Regions from separate parts of the Homo sapiens genome. Here region 1 is linked to region 2. The links are contacts of gene promoters, found by promoter capture Hi-C in blood cells and fetal thymus (Javierre and others, 2016). All regions are on one chromosome and are shown on one strand. Each heading gives the region's core, a stretch centred on a gene start or on the middle of the fragment in contact. The rest is flanking DNA. Distances are from core to core; before and after follow the strand shown. Region 1 overlaps FNBP1 (formin binding protein 1). Region 2 holds the start of C9orf78 (chromosome 9 open reading frame 78).

The links. The method cuts DNA at HindIII sites, captures the fragments that hold promoters and counts their contacts. A CHiCAGO score of 5 or more calls a contact.
Region 1: a contact is called between a fragment that was not itself captured here and the fragment with the promoter of C9orf78 in region 2, in 2 of 17 cell types (total CD8 T cells and naive CD4 T cells). The highest score is 5.5, in total CD8 T cells.

The regions. Positions count from the first base shown.
Region 1 is chr9:129,956,072-129,958,771 of GRCh38, forward strand. It overlaps FNBP1 (formin binding protein 1), which reads right to left. Exons shown (of 17, transcript NM_015033.3): 5 at 2,420-2,482; 6 at 1,289-1,393. Among named protein-coding and RNA genes, the nearest start is that of FNBP1, 86 kb to the right of the region's middle. The HindIII fragment of the contact is 1,536 bases long and covers 497-2,032 here.
Region 2 is chr9:129,833,909-129,836,608 of GRCh38, forward strand. C9orf78 (chromosome 9 open reading frame 78) reads right to left here and starts at 1,367. Exons shown (of 9, transcript NM_016520.3): 1 at 1,231-1,367; 2 at 799-858. The coding sequence starts at 1,313. USP20 (ubiquitin specific peptidase 20) reads left to right here and starts at 1,550. Exons shown (of 26, transcript NM_001110303.4): 1 at 1,550-1,591. RefSeq lists silencers at 1,299-1,648, 1,679-1,828 and an enhancer at 1,800-2,300. The HindIII fragment of the contact is 4,419 bases long and covers 1-2,700 here.

The sequences.
Region 1 (2,700 bases), core at 15-2,514, 120 kb after region 2:
TATGTTGCCCAGTCTGGACTCCTGGGCTCAAGCAATCCTCTTGCTTCAGTCTCCTAAGTAGCTGAGTCTAGGGGTATGTGCCACAGCACCTGGCAAGAATATGTATTTTAATATATTTAATAATTTTAGAGAAAGGCATACTAATATTAACGTATACCTAGTCTTTAAGCAAGGAATTTGGCAGAATTTGGCAAATAATAGTTCACACCATTTCCCAACTAAACTCAACTCTAACTGATCTGTCAAAAGCTCAACAAATCTATAAAAACTCAGTGCTTTCACCCACATACAGCATGAAGCTATGAATGCCCAAACAACCATGGGCATCATGAATGAGTCCTTGTTATGTAAAAGCCTAATTTTGTTTACATTGTATTGATGACTTTAATAAAAATAAAATTCAGCTTCTAGGGAAAAAACGCATATTGAGCCACAATGAGAAACAGTATACACTTTATAATATTTCTAGTTGGCAATACAAGTCCATTTAGAGAAAAGCTTTTGAGAGGACTGAAATATGCAAGGCTTCAACTACAACCTCACTGTTATCAACCAGGAGGAATCAATTAGAAGTCAGGCAAGCAGTGAGACTATTGCTCTAAAGGAACCATTATAAGCAGCCAAGCTCTTCCAGATGGCCCTGTCCTGTCTCCTCCGGCTCTCAAGAAATTGACTTTCTCTTTGAAAAGCCATTAAGAGCCACAACCTTCTGGAACGTTGTTCCCAGACTGTTCATAGTCTAAGTCTCCACTTTATCACCCTGGTGACTCAACAGATAAAACGTCTCAAATTCTAACACCGAAGATTCCCCACACTTGAGCTTCTGGTCCCCACAATGGTTGACACAAAATGAAAATGATTCCCCATGTAGCGCCTTTTGTGGCTACATTAGAAATGAGAACTTGGGGATGGGTGGTCGGTGATGAACACTCACAGGGGAAATGAAAGACACACTTGAGCTTTCTTTTGTCTTTTTTTTTTTTTGGCGATAGTTTCGCTCTTGTTACCCAGGCTGGAGTGCAGTGGCGTGATCTTGGCTCACTGCAGCCAACGCCTCCTGGGCTCAAGCGATTCTCCTGCCTCAGCCTCCCTAGTAGTTGGGATTATAGGTGCCTGCCACTGCACTCAGCTAATTTTTGTGTTTTTCGTAGAGATGGGGTTTCACCATCTTGGCCAGGCTGGTCTCGAACTCCTGGCCTCAGGTGATCCGCTCACCTCAGCCTCCCAAAGTGCTGGGATTACAGGCGTGAGCCACCGTGCCCGGCCCACACTTGAGCTTTCACCTCACCTTTTCAACATCCGCTTTTGTGACATTGATGTCAGCGTCCATTTTCTCAAAGTACTGCTGCGCCCTGTCCGCCTCTTTGCAATCGCGTTCAAATCGCCTTTTACTCTAAAATCAGAGGAAAATAATTATGAAACCATAAGAGTCCTACGAGAAGATGTAATTTTATCTAAAGCTCCCAAAGAGCATTGTTCTTTTTCTTTTTTTTTTCTTCAGTCAGGGTCTCACTTTGTCACCCAGGCTGGAGTGCAGTGGCGCCATCTTGGCTCACTGCAGCTTTGACCTTCCCGGCTCAGGTGATCCTCCCACCTCAGCCTCACTAGCTGCTGTGACTACAGGCATGCACCACCATGCCCAGCTAATTTTTGCATTTTTTTGTAGAGACTAGGTTTTGTCATGTTGCCCATGCTGGTCTTGAGCTTCTGAGCTCAAGCAATCCTCCCGCCTCTGCCTCCCAAATTGCTGGGATTACAGGCGTGAGCCAATGTGTCTGGCCCAAGAATACTCTTCTCTGAATTGATTTCTTATATGTCATAATTTCTAGAAGTTATTTTAAAATCTGCATTTATTTCCATCAAAACTGTCTAATCTTTATTATTTCCACGTGACTTTTAGAAAAATACTCAACTTGAGCTCTTTTGGCTCAACTTTAGATAATGGTTCTAGAAACAAATTAAATGAGAAAAATCTATAAAGATGTTTCATTAGTGTTTTTATGTGCATGTTTTTTACTTTCTGATTGACTCAAGCTTAAATTAAATTGAAACTGGAAAATCTATAAAGACATTTCCTAGGCTGGGTGCAGTGGCTCACGCCTGTAATCCCAGAACTTTGGGAGGCCGAGGTGGGCGAATCACTTCAGGGCAGGAGTTCAAGACCACCCTGGCCAACATGGCAAAACCCCATCTCTACCAAAAATACAAAAATTAGCCGGGCATGGTGACGTGTGCCTGTAATCTTAGCTACTTGGGAGGCTGAGGCAGGAGAATCACTTGAACCTGGGAAGCAGAGGTTACAGTGAGCCGAGATCGCACCATTGCACTCCAACCTGGGCAACAGAGGGAGCCTCCGTCTCAAAAAAAAAGAAAAAAAAATCTATAAAGCCGTTTCTTTTGCTGTGCATTGTTCACTTACAGATTCAAGCTGCTTCCAGCAAGTCTCGATGTGCTGCTGTGCTTTACGGCCATCGTGAAAGTTCTGCAAAGGGGAAAACACACTGGTGATTAGTACCCTCTGCTTCTCTTATGAACCCAGGAGGAAACATTTTCATCCACTTAAACAACATCTAAATATTGAACCTCTAGTATGTATGCTCCAAAGAAATTTAAGAGTTGAAAGGGGTAGCCGGGTGCGGTGGCTCACATCTGTAATCCCAGAACCCTGGGAGGCTGAGGAAGAAGAATCGCTTGAGCCAA
Region 2 (2,700 bases), core at 117-2,616:
CGCTGGTGGTGAAGTGGTACACTTTGCCACTTTCCTGTAAAGCCATTTGGCATTATCTTGGCCTGGAAATCTCATTTCTAAGATATTCTCATCATGGAAAGTGCAGCTAAAGATAAATTTAAGAGAATATCCACTGCAGCCTTATTTGATAGTAAAAATTTACAAAATCACCTACATGTCCCAAAATAGGGGATTTGTTAACAAATTACAATACACACATCTGGTGGAATATTATGCAGCCATTAAGGCTTTCTGAAAAATATTCCACAATATGGGTGAATGCCCACAATGTCATAATGAGTTGAAAAGAACAGGGAATAAAAGTACATAGAAAGTTGTTCACAATCTGAGAGAGAGAGACGAAAAAAAACAGATTGGAAAGAGTATTCAATATTAATACCAGTGCATTCTTGGGTGGCTCTGCAAGGAAAAAAAATGTTAACACTGATCATTTCCGGATGGGAGAATTATGGGTGCTTTTTATCGTCTTGACTATACTTTTCTAAATTATACAAACTCTTAACGATCGATATGCATTTCACAATTAATTGGTTTTAATAAAAAACGCGAGTTAGTGATCTGTTTCTGTATCTCTGGAGCACACCCCGAGACGACACAGCTCAGGGCATGTCCTGGTTAAACATTTGCAAAGAACGCTGTTCTCCAAGTTGGGCAGTGGAAGGTGTACAGTGTGTCAAGAGAAAAATCTACGTCTGAGGAGATATTTGTGACAGCGACCCGGACGCGGATGTGTCTGTCGTCCCCGCCGCCTCCTCCTCCTCCCCGCGTGGTACCCACCTCACCCCGTTGGGCCTCTTCCTCAAGTTCTGTACCTCTCTGGTCTCTTCCAGTTTTAATCTTTAAAAAGAAGAAGAAGCAGCAATGCATAAGCTGAGTGATTCCCCGCGGAATCCAAAGCTAACAGAGCCAATAAGGCACCTTCGAGGGCATCCCAGCCCAGCTACTGAGCCACCAGCACAGTGGTCCAGAGGACGACCTTGTGCCTAGACCCACCGGGAGTCAGAGCCACTGCGCATCCCGGAGGCATCTCTCTCAACCGTTCGAGCTTGGGGCGGTGGCCTCACCCCTTGAGCCTCAATTTCTGCGTCCGCAGAAGGAACCACCACCCGAGCTCACAGTTAACAATGTCAGCGAAGCGCCGAGCCGGTGGTGAGTCCCCCAAACAAGTCTATCTTTACCAAGCCTATGGGAGCCCCGCCCCAAACGCACCGAACCTCCTCTGAGTCCTGCTCATCTTCCTCTGACTCCGAGTCGCCCCGGCGGCGACGGAAAATCTTCCGGACGACCGGCATGGTGACAACGGCCGAGTTGTACAGCCGCCGCGCCTCTGCGCAGCGGCCCAGGCTGCTTCCGGCGCGCGGCAGAGCGGTCAGAGCGCCTGCCCCGTCTGGCCCCGCCCCCGGCACGCACAGTCCGCGTGGCCACGCCCCCTCTCCTGGCGTCAGCCTCTTCCGATTGGACGGCAGAGGGAAGGAGGTGGGGCGTCGCCAGACGGCCCCACAACCCTGCGCGTCGCCTCAGAGGGGGCGCGCTTGACTGACAGGCGGCGGCGGCGCAGTTGCGAGTGCAGGTGAGTTCCGGGCCGCCACCGGCTGCTTCTGTGGGCCGGGCCTCTGAGCATTGGCGACCCCAGCCCGGCTCCGGGCTGACAGGGCCTGGCTTCGCCAGGTACGCCAGACGCAGCGGCCCGGTGAGCGGAGCCCGGGACCCCCCCGGCCGCCGCCGCCCCTCTCCCCTCCTCCGGTCGGCGCCCAGGGGGGCCTCTGGGCCCCAGCACCACCCCACTCTGAGCTCCCTGGGGGCTCGTGGCTTCTCCAGAACCGGGGCCGCCCCCCTCTCATTTCTGCCGGGGCCTGACCTAGCGTTGAAAGCATCCGCGTGGCGTCTCGCGTCTCGGGCGCTGACTTTTCTTTCCTCGGGCTCTGAGCCCTGACGTGCGTTTTTTTCTTTCGGAACAAAAGATGACCACTTCTCTGCGGTGCTGACTTAGAGTCCCAGCGCCGACTGCCTCACAAATAATGGCCCCCAGCTTCTCCGCGAGGAGAGGCGCGTCTGATGTTTTGAAGCCACGCAAGAGGGTTTGAGCCGGGGGACTCCTCCTCGGTGCTTGCCGGCCACCCCCCTGGACCTTCACGGGTCTGGTTTTCCTCCTTCGGCAGGTCTGTCGCTCTACCCTCTGCCCCTTCCACCCCGAAGATGCTGTGAGGATAAAGTTTATTTGAAAAACTGGTATCAGCAAACGCTTAGGAAATACCTAAATGCATAAATAATGGCTTCTAGGACTTTTAAGAACCCCTTAAGTAACAGTAGTTTTCCTTTTCTCAGTGTCATCCCTTACTTTGAGAACTACCTCTTATTAAGCAGTTACTATGTGGCAGGCCCTGGGCAAAGCATCATCTCATTGAATTCTCCCAGCAATCCTTTGAGGTAGATTGTTTTTCGTTTTACAAATGAGAATGCGGAGTCTCCGAGGGGCAGTGCACGCCTCAAGTTACCCAGCTAGGAGGTGGAACAGGAATTGGTTGCAGGTCAGTCTCTGCCGCACGGTTTGCACAGGGCCTGGCACGGTAGGAGTGCAGTAGATGTTTGCTGCTGCTGCAGCTGCTGTTACATCTCATTGGCTAGGGGGAGGGGCCGATGGGGGCTGTCTGGGGTTCCCCTTTCTGGAAGACCATTCCG